Linked DNA regions of Homo sapiens: region 2 is linked to region 1. Evidence: promoter capture Hi-C in human tissues and cell types (Jung and others, 2019). All regions are on one chromosome and are shown on one strand. The core of a region is centred on a gene start or on the middle of the fragment in contact, and the rest is flanking DNA. Distances in the headings are between cores, read along the strand shown.

Evidence for each region. Contacts are between HindIII fragments. The study calls those that stand out against the background at their distance.
Region 2: a fragment that was not itself captured here is called in contact with the fragment with the promoter of BTNL3 in region 1 in 1 of the 25 tissues and cell types used here (H1 embryonic stem cells).

The regions. Positions count from the first base shown.
Region 1 is chr5:180,987,524-180,992,637 of GRCh38, forward strand. It overlaps BTNL3 (butyrophilin like 3), which reads left to right and starts at 1,323. Exons shown (of 8, transcript NM_197975.3): 1 at 1,323-1,554. The coding sequence starts at 1,506. It also overlaps the pseudogene ARPP19P1. The HindIII fragment of the contact is 12,362 bases long and covers 1-5,114 here.
Region 2 is chr5:180,785,769-180,790,713 of GRCh38, forward strand. MGAT1 (alpha-1,3-mannosyl-glycoprotein 2-beta-N-acetylglucosaminyltransferase) reads right to left here. Exons shown (of 2, transcript NM_002406.4): 2 at 1-4,945. Among named protein-coding and RNA genes, the nearest start is that of MGAT1, 15 kb to the right of the region's middle. RefSeq lists enhancers at 1-178, 179-1,089. The HindIII fragment of the contact is 7,218 bases long and covers 1-4,945 here.

The DNA of each region.
Region 1 (5,114 bases), core at 73-2,572:
TTGTACTTAAGGTAGGATTACATGTTTACAGATTGTGGGGGAAAAAAAAAGAAAAGTGAAGGGAGAGAAAAGACAAGGCGAGTGGCCAGAGACCCTCAGGATCCAAGAGTTAACTCTGATTAACTCAGATGCTTTGTTCAGCCAATTTCAGACTTCTTTTTTCCTAATACAAGCACTTAAGGATAAGCCTTTCTGTAAGAACTGCCTTACATGCATCATAGTATTTTAAATGTAGTGTTTTCATTCTTCTTCTAGTCTAATTACCTTCAACTTCTATTATTAGTTCTCTTAGACCCATTAGTTATTTAAAATTGTGTTATTAACAATTTCTAAGTTCATGGGGTTTCCTCTTTTTAAATTGCTCTTTACCTTCGTTGTCCTTCGTGGTGCTCTCCGTGGAAACCTGCTTTCTGATCTAGTAAGTGCTTATTCTTTGTGCATGTCCCTAGACTTGAAATCACTGCATAATCCCTAACTGTGTGTGTCCTGGCTTAGTGCATCTAATGAATGACTGAATGAATGCATCTTTGCCTTTGCCTTACCCCCGGGCCTGAAACATCGTCTTGGTCCCCTTCTCAATACCTTGGATCCTTGGAGATCAAGGTCCTGGTTGTTCTGGCAAGTTCAACACAATCTGGCCTCATGATCAGAGTCCTGTCCCTGAACTCAAGACAAGGGAGGGATGGGCAGAATTACCTCATGCTGTGCCAGGAAATATGAGTCTCATGGGGCATGGCCTGTGTGCCTGGGCAAATTCACTGCCTCACTACCCTGTGCTGAGATGATCTCTTTTTTTTTTTTTTTTTTTTTTTTTTTCTGAGATAGAGCCTCACTCTGTCACCAGACTGGAGTGTAGTAGTGCAATCTGGGCTCACTGCAACCTCCCTCTTCCCGGTTCAAGCAATTCTCCTGCCTCAGCCGCCCAAGTAGGTGGGACTACAGGTGCGCACCACCATGCCTGGCTGATTTTTGTATTTTCAGTAGAGACGGGGTTTCATCATGTTGGCCAGGATGATCTCGATCTCTTGACCTCGTGATTCACCTGCCTTGGCTTCCCAAAGTGCTGGGATTACAGGCATGAGCCACTGCGCCCGTCCAATCTCTCTTTCAGGGACAGATGTTCACTCTCTCTTGCAGCTCTGCCTGCCAGACTAAGCCTGAAAATATCTCTGCATCTGGCATTCCTTTACCACCTATGTGGGGCACAACCCAGAACAAAGTCCCTCCAAGTGTACCCTACTCTCTTTCCATTATCATTTCTCTGGTCTGAGATAGATGTTTATGACCTGCCAATAAATGCAGTGACTCAAACTCCAGTGCCCATACTCCTCATTCATACAGCCATGTTTAGGGAGGCTCTAGGGAGAAATGCACAGTTTGACATCGTTCATGAAGAGCCTCTCCACGGCTCCTGCGCCTGAGACAGCTGGCCTGACCTCCAAATCATCCATCCACCCCTGCTGTCATCTGTTTTCATAGTGTGAGATCAACCCACAGGAATATCCATGGCTTTTGTGCTCATTTTGGTTCTCAGTTTCTACGAGCTGGTGTCAGGTAAGCCTTTCAGTTTGGACTGTTGTTTTTCTCCTTGTTGAATAATATTTTGAGTTCATTCATGACAATGATCTCAGCACAGTGAGATGCAGGAATCTTTGGTGCTTGCATTCTCCAGCTTCTCCTGGCCTCAGGCTGGAAACTACCAATGCCAGGAGCTGTGGGAAGCACAGGGCAGCAGGAATTGAGGAAGACTCCTTGGGCTGTTTCTCAAGGACTTGGGCACTATCACAGTAGCTCAGAATAATGGGAGCAGGCCCTGGGAGCAGGGAGGGAACACATTGAGAACGCCAAGGTAAACACATTGTTCTCCCCAGGTGGGCTGTGGGGCTTAGGCAGGGGAAGTCTCTAATAAAATCCCCAGGTTTTTGACTTGGGTGCCTGGGTGGAAGGTGGCACTGTTTAGGATGTTTGGAGAAAAAGACAATGTGTCCAGTTATGCACATGCTGAGTTAGAAACACCTGTAGTTATGGGGTAGAGCACCAGACCTTTAAGTGAGGAGTAAGTTGGAACCTGGCATAGTCTAGGCAGAAACCCACTCTTCTTTCTCCTTCTAGTAACCATCAAGACAAAGCCTGGTGTATAGGATATTCAGTAATCAAATAAATTTTGCAGGGAGAGATAGGGGCTGGAGTAGAACACTGGATTCTGGGTGGTCAGTGTTAAGCCACAAAAAGTTCATTTGACTGTGTTCACTTTCTGTCTGGAACAGTTCCATCCTGCTATTTGTCTACCTATGACTGTTTTGCTAAACAAAGCCAACAAAACAGAAATAAGGGGATCAAAATCCATGTGTGCTCAGAGGGCGTGGTGGCTCACACCTGTAATCCCAGCACTTTGGGAGGCTGAGGTGGGTGGATCACCTGAGGTCAGGAGTTTGAGACTAGCCTGGCCAACATGGTGAAACCCCATCTCTACTAAAAACACAAAAATTAGCCGGGCATGGTGGTGAGCGCCTGTAGTCCCAGCTACTCGGGAGGCTGAGGCACGAGAATCACTTAAACCCAGGAGGCGGAGGTTGCAGTGTGCCAAGATCGTGCCACTGCACTCCAACCTGGGTGACAGAGTGAGACTTTGTCTCAAAAAAACAAAAACAAAAAATCACAATCCACGTATGTTACTCACAAGACAGCCTCCGTTTAAGTACATTCTCACCCATTTTCTGACAAGCCTTTCTGTCTGCTTTCTGTTTCTGCATGAGGCAGCAGGGCATGCTGGAAATGACCTTAGAGGAAGTAACACTATTTTTAAAACTTTCCTTTTCTCTATGAGCTTGTGGCTAATAACTTCTATTAGCATCAATTTTTGCTTATGATGACATAGAGATAATAAGATCACATCTGTGACATTCCTGTGGCTGAAGGGCTGCTGTGTGGATTGCGTGAACTCGTGCATGTAGAGCGTCCAGCACGGAGCTCCGCTGGGGCACAGTATGTTGCGACAACAGACAGTGTCATTCCTTGCTTCTCCCCAGGGGAAGGAGTAAAGGGAGACGCTGTCGGCAAGACAAATGACAGCAGCAAGGCTGGCCGGAGAAACAGACATATACTAAAAACTGTTTGCCTGGCTTGAGAGTCTCACACAGCCTTGAAGGCAGCACTCACAGCAGCCCAGCTGACAGGCTGGGTCCCAAAAGCTGATCTAGAGCAAGGGCCTTTCTGCAGGTGGTTTGTTTAGCAGACTGTTCTCAGAAACAAAAGTGACAGGGTGCAGAGAGTGAAGCCAGCGGGAGGTAAGCCATAGAGGGTGCGCTAATGAGCAGGTTGCTGCGGTGGCAACTGGGACCCAGTCCCACTGGGTCCTTTGGAGGAACTGTATAGACGATGGCTCAGGATCTTCCCAACATCCACTGCTTCCTGTTCCCCACTGGGTGAGATGTGCCCCTCCGGGACTATTAAAATCGCAAACCTTCTTGGCCACCCTGTGCCTGGGCTGAGGAGGTTCCAAAGGTTGCAAGAAGCCATCAGCAGAGAGGCAGAGGCCAGGCTCCAGGGGCGGAGCTGTCAGCAGGCAGGCAAGTGCCCATCCCATTCCAGGGGGACTCAGGGTTGGGTGGTGAGGAGCAGGGCCTCAACATCTGCTACACCAGGTCAGCAGCTGGTCTGACACCAGGCTGCAAAGTCACGCCTCACTTAATAATGCTCTTAAAGATGCATGAGTGAAATACATTTCAGCAAGATTTATAAAATGTACTTAAACTTAGAAATAATTAGTGCTAAAATTAAAAATATCCACTTATCTGGAAATTCACACATGGGATCCACTTTGCCTCTGATGCACATGCAGATACCACACACAGATATATCCATATACCATAAATGGATACATGTGAATGAATCAAGAGACACTGCCAATCAAAGGGGGTGGGTACTTAGAAGGTGAAGGGAGTGGGCCTCCATCGTTTGTGGTCTCTCTAAGAAGAACTCTAATCATACAGAGTTGTAAGTGTGATTTGCACCAGAAAAATTACTTAGTTGACCACAAAACCAAGAAGCAAATGCAAAAAGAAAGTAGCGCTCACCATTCCTAGGCATAATCCCTGTCTGTGGAGCCCATTCTCCATGCTGGGCATGGGGAATCCTGTGCTGAGGGAAACACACACACTCTGTCCTCATGAAGCTAAAAGTCGTGCAGGGAAGGCTCGCAGAAAACAAACAGTTATGTCACTTGCAGCAAGATGAAGACAGTTTCAAGTGAAGATCAAGACAAAGCTGTACCAAGAAAATACAAACAAAACAAAACAGGTAAGCCATGTTGATAAAGCACTAGAGTGGGGGTGTCCAATCTTTTGCCTTCCCTGGGCCATATTGAAAGAAGAACTAACACTAACGATAACTAATGAATGAAAAAAAATCACAAAAAATCTTATAATGTTTTAAGAAAGTTTAAGAATTTGTGTTGGACCGTATTCAAAGCCGTCCTGAGTCTCATGCAGCCCACAGGCTGTGGCTTGGACAAACTTTTGCTAGACGAAGTACTATTCAAGCACGAAATAATAAAGTGGAAAAACATAAAATTATTACCTGGAGTAAAATGTAGGTGTCATGGAAAAGATATGTCACAACATCAGTGCACTAAAGGGCAAATCTCTGAAATAAAAACTACAAAATCTCCTCACTGTGTCACACCATGTCCTTCAGAATATGGCAGAAGTCTACTTAAAAAAAAGAAGCACAAATAAATGTGCTTCAGCGGAGAATATATATTCCTTTCTTGTATCCATAAAACATTTACAAGATGTAATCATCTATTTGAAGGAAATAAATTTTCCCAAATTCGATATTTTATGGCCACTTACTCCCCTCCTGGGTCATTAAAAAAGGTTTTTAGCATAGAAGATGCAAAGGGGGTGGTGTGAGTGTTCATTAAGCAGATGGGCAGAGAGGAGAGCACGTGGAGATAGATTCTCCTCCAGTCAGGGAGTCTGCATTTGGAAGGTGCCTCTCAGGCCCCTGAATAACTCATCCCCAGAGACAGGGTTTCCTCATGTTGAATGTGGGAATATTGATAGCACATACCTCACCTCATCTCACATGAGATGTGTGTGAGAACCGAGTGA
Region 2 (4,945 bases), core at 703-3,202, 200 kb before region 1:
AATAGAAACTCTGAAAAGTAATCAAACAGTATTTCCAAAGGAGGCTTTTGGCAGGCTTGCCTCATTGCCCTTGCAGGGAAGGCTGCCTGTCTCTAGCCATCTTCCTCTTCTTACAGCTGTGCTGAGACGTTTTTGGCTGGGGCAGGGCTGCTGCACTGAGGGTGCATCCCACCTCCTGCAGGGAAGGCAGCCAGACCACATTCCAGTGAGTGGAACGTGAGGGAAGGCTGTCTGCCCACTGCTTTTGTTCCATAAAGAATGAGGCTTGCCCTCCCTTCCCCTCTCCTGCTTCCTGGTAGCTGAACCAGGGCAGCATTTGCTGTGAGCTGGGAGCCATGTGTTGAAGACGGCGGAACAACAAAAGTGAAGACAAAAAAGAAAACTGCATCACTGGCATGTGCCCTTGTCAGTCAGCACTTCCGGGGCTGTGTGTGGCCTTCAGGAATTTCAGTTTTCATGCATGACCCTGAGAAGACTCAGCCCCCTGCCACAGTAGGACAGGTTTCTCAAACAACCCACTAGGGTTAGGGGCCCGCAGGTTTCATTCTGCCCCTCTCCAGGTCAGGGTTCCTAATGCACTCCCCCCAAAGCTCCCCATCACCCTGCCCTCTCCAAATCCTCGTCACTGTCACAAGCTTGGTCTTCCAGGCACCGTGTATGGCCGTGGTCCCTGTAGTCGCCCATACAATCACTCCCTTCTTAGTAACAGGAATCTTAATTTGATTCAGCTTCAGAAATACTTTTTCCAGCCTCTTTTGCTGACAGGGGTGCCTGTGTGATCCAGTTCTACCCAGGGAATTGTGACCCAGCGCTCTGTGAGCTTCCAAGAGAGGAGGAGGCAGCTGCCATCCACCCTTTACCTTCTTCCTTCCTCCTTCTTCCTAAAACGTGTGCTGGCTGGAGCTCCCGCAGCCAAGGAATGAGACCTGACCTCGTGCTAAGAAGAGTGAGACTGAGACCTGAGAAGGAGCCTGGGCCCTGACGGTGGAGGAACCCCCACACCAGCCTGCACCATCGACCTCTCATTTCCGTCCGGCGCTGGGATCCAGGCTTCCTGCTCTGCAACTGAATCCATTCTGACACACTGTCTTACAGTTCTGGTATAAAGGGTCAGACTTCAAGTTAGCCAAGGGAGGCAGTGGGGGAAAGTAACAGCCTTGGCACTACCCGGCCCCCTTTCTATCAACTGCCCCCGCTCTGCCCGCTCCAGACACATGTGGAGGGGGATTAAGTGTCGAGGGAGCCAAGGTGAACAGCAGGAAAAGGAAAGCAGTGGAGACAGAGATTTCCACCAGGCTTTACTCACAATGCAGCCATACGGATTAATCCCACAGCCACCACAGAAGGTTGTGTTACCCCCGCCTCACAGGAAGAGGCTCTGGCAGGAAGAACAGCTGGACCCGAGTCAGACACGCAGGTCACGGGCCCAGAGCAGGGCCGGCCCAGGCCCACCGCACTCTATGACATCGGCCACCAGGCTGGTCTCCAGGAAATAGGGCCCTGGTGTCTACTTCCTAAACTCCCTGTGAATTGCCAGGGGCCAGAATGTGGGTAGGTGGGAGAACAGATGGAGGCTGAAGGACCTCTGGTGGCAAAACACTGACCTCTACAGAGGTCTCATCAGAAAGCCTGAAATCCCACGTTAGATATTTCAGAAAGAGGGCAAGCTTCTGTTCTATACATTTGTATGTTATTTAAAGTTACACAGCCAGACAAATATGTACATAACACTATGGGTTTTGGTGGTAAATGTTTTATCTATGCATATTATGTATAGATGTGAGGAAGACGTCTGGAAGGATACACCACCCACGCGTAAACACACGTTAAGGGAGCGTGTGCAGTATGTTGTATCTAAAATGAACATGTAATACGAAAAGCCAGTAGCTGGTATTTGTAAAGGGGTGCTCTGTATCTAACCCTCTAAATGCCCCCCACCTCCCACCCTCTTGGCCTGCTCTGAGGGCTTCGTCTCCGTTTCCCTGGCCCCTCAGCCTTGGCAGGCTTCTCATGCAGGGCCCAGTGAAGGCTCAGGAGGGCCTTGGCCAGACTCCATCAGACATTTGTCTCCACTGGGGGCGACTTGATCCACAAATGAGATCCCACCAGTGACCCAGGTAAGAGGATTGCAAAGGCCAAGAGGCTTGAGGAGGGAAGGCTGCCCGGAAGGCAGTCTGTCCTGGAGACAGAGTGAGCAGGAACCCACAGTGAGAGCAGGAGTGGCAGGAGGTGGTCACAGCTGGAGGCAGAAGCAGGAATGCAGCAGCAGCAGCAGCCAGGCGCAAGGCAGCTCTGTAAACCTGCAAACTCGAGGCTGGCTGAACTCTACAGCATTGACTAACACGGGGCTTTTCCATCTGGCATTTCCACTTGCTTTGGTATCCACAGGCGCTTCCGGGCCCGGGGGCAGCCGCCACGCACACACGCATGCCACCTGAGCAAGCCTTGATGGGTGAATACCAGGAGACCCCTGAAGGTGCTCCTTGCTTCAGGAGCCTGAGAACCCAGTCTTTCGTCTTGTAAGGGGGTCCTCTGGCACCGCAGGCCCCAAACTCTACTCCTCCCGCCATCTCTCCTGGACCTCCCCGAGCCACGCAGCCCCCTCTTCCTCTCCACCCTCACAGGAGACCGCCGGTGCCTGGCCTGAGAATCCAAGTGCAGCTGGGGAATGGCCTGGAAGAGGCCGTAAAGGCTGGAATGGAACAGTCCAGCCTCACACAGTGGCTAACAGCACAGAGTTCATTCCAATCCGGCTCTCCCTCAACCATCTGTGTGACCTTGGGCAACTTCACCTCTGTGTGCCTGCTTCCTCACTGGTAAAACAGGAGCAAAACAGTACCCACCGCCTAGGCTTGCTCTGAGGATCAAGTAAGTTGGTACTTATCCTGGAGCACTAAGTAAGTTGGTACTTATCCTGGAGCACTAAGTAAGTTGGTACTTATCCTGGAGCACTAAGTAAGTTGGTACTTATCCTGGAGCACTAAGTAAGTTGGTACTTATCCTGGAGCACTAAGTAAGTTGGTACTTATCCTGGAGCACTAAGTAAGTTGGTACTTATCCTGGAGCACTAAGTTGGTACTTATCCTGGAGCACTAAGTAAGTTGGTACTTATCCTGGAGCACTCAGAACAATGCACTTGGCTAGCTGCATGACATGCTATGCGCATGGAGCGTGGCGGCCAAACTCCTCCTGGCTCCACCGGAAAGGGCACAATGCAGCTATCGCCGGGCCGATTCCACGTCTGAAATCACGGATAATGACCACCTCCCCTTATTTAACAAAAAATATGGCTAAATAATCCATCTAAGCAACAGGGGAAGGCAAAACCCGCTCCACACAAATCTCAAAGGTTAAAATAAAACCAATGTCTGACACTGGTTTCTGAGCCCAGATGGGAGGTTGGAGCTGCTCCCAAGGCCACGGCCCTCGACACAGCTCCCCAGACAACTCTGCCACCATCTGGTGTCGAGCTCCAAAGTAGTTTCTGCCAAGAAAGTTGCCTAGCCCAGGGTTTTTGGTTTGTTTTGTTTTGAGACGCAGTTTCGCTCTTACCGCCCAGGCTGGAGTGCAGTGGTGCGATCTCAGGTCACTGCAACCACCCCGTCCCGGGTTCAAGCAATTCTCCTGCCTCAGCCTCCCAAGTAGCTGGAATTACAGGCATGTGCCACCACACCCAGCTAATTTTTGTATTTTTAGTAGAGATGGGGTTTCACCATGTTAGCCAGGCTGGTCTCAAACTCCTGAAGTGATCCACCCGCCTCAGCCTCCCAAAGTACTGGGATTACAGGCGTGAGCCACCGCGCCTGGACTAGCCCAGGGTTTTCAAACCCACTCATGAAATCAAGTTCGTGAGTCACAAAAAGCGTTTTGTTTTTCCGAGACAGAGTCTTGCTCTGTCGCCCAGGCTGGAGTGCAGTGGTATGATCTTGGATTACTGCAACCTCTGCCTCCCGGGTTCAAGTGATTCTCCAGCCTCAGCTTCCTGAGTAGCTGGGATTACAGGTGTGTGCCACCATGCCCAGCAAGTTTTTGTATTTTTAGTAGAGTATTTTTAGGTTTCACCATGTTGGCCAGGATGGTCCCGAACTCCTGACTTCGTGATCCGTCCGCCTCAGCCTCCCAAAGTGCTGGGATTACATGTGTAAGCCACTGCGCCCGGCCGCGTTTTGTTCTTTTAAATGAATTAGTGGAGAACAGAAACTCTCAGAATGTTGCACGTGATATGCAGAGGTAACAGTCTGTCTGTGTTCTGGGTATTAGCAAAACAGGCACTCTCACTGGGGTTGCGTTTGGGAGTCCAAGCGCCACTGTGAGGCCAACCCTGGTATCAGCTGTGTACCCTGAGGCTCCCCGGCACGTCATAAAGGGCACTCAATAAGCACTGCCTGGGCCAGCAGAGGGCACCGGGCACAAAGCACCACTCAGGGACCACCCTGATCAGAGGACCTGGTTCTTCCCCAGACCAGGCCTGCCCAGCCAGCAGGAGGCAGAAGCAGGAGACACTCACCAGCTTTCCTGCTGCGGCCTCCTGGCTCTACAGGACGATCAGCAGGAGCACAGTCCGGGGCTCCTCTCCACCTTGTGGCCTGGACTTCCTTTCCCACCTGGCCCCCATCCCCTGGGCTGTCCCTGGCTCTTCCCTCCCACTCATCTGCTTTCTTTCCTCAACTTTGCTTCCTCCCACCCGTCTAGCCCTCTCCTTAACTCTTCATTCTCCCTTTTCCTTTCTTTCCCTGCCTGCCACCTCCTTTTCCAGGACACACACACATAAATATTTTTCAGACAATTCAGCCTTTATTTTAGAAAATAATTCTGTAGCTTCCACTTTCTTTCATGAAACTGAGGTCAGGCAAGAAACAAAAATCCACCAAGTCCTCTCCATCCTGCCATGGCGTCCTGGCCTGTGAGGACATGGGGCGCCTGGGAGCGGGCGGGGAGGCTGGGC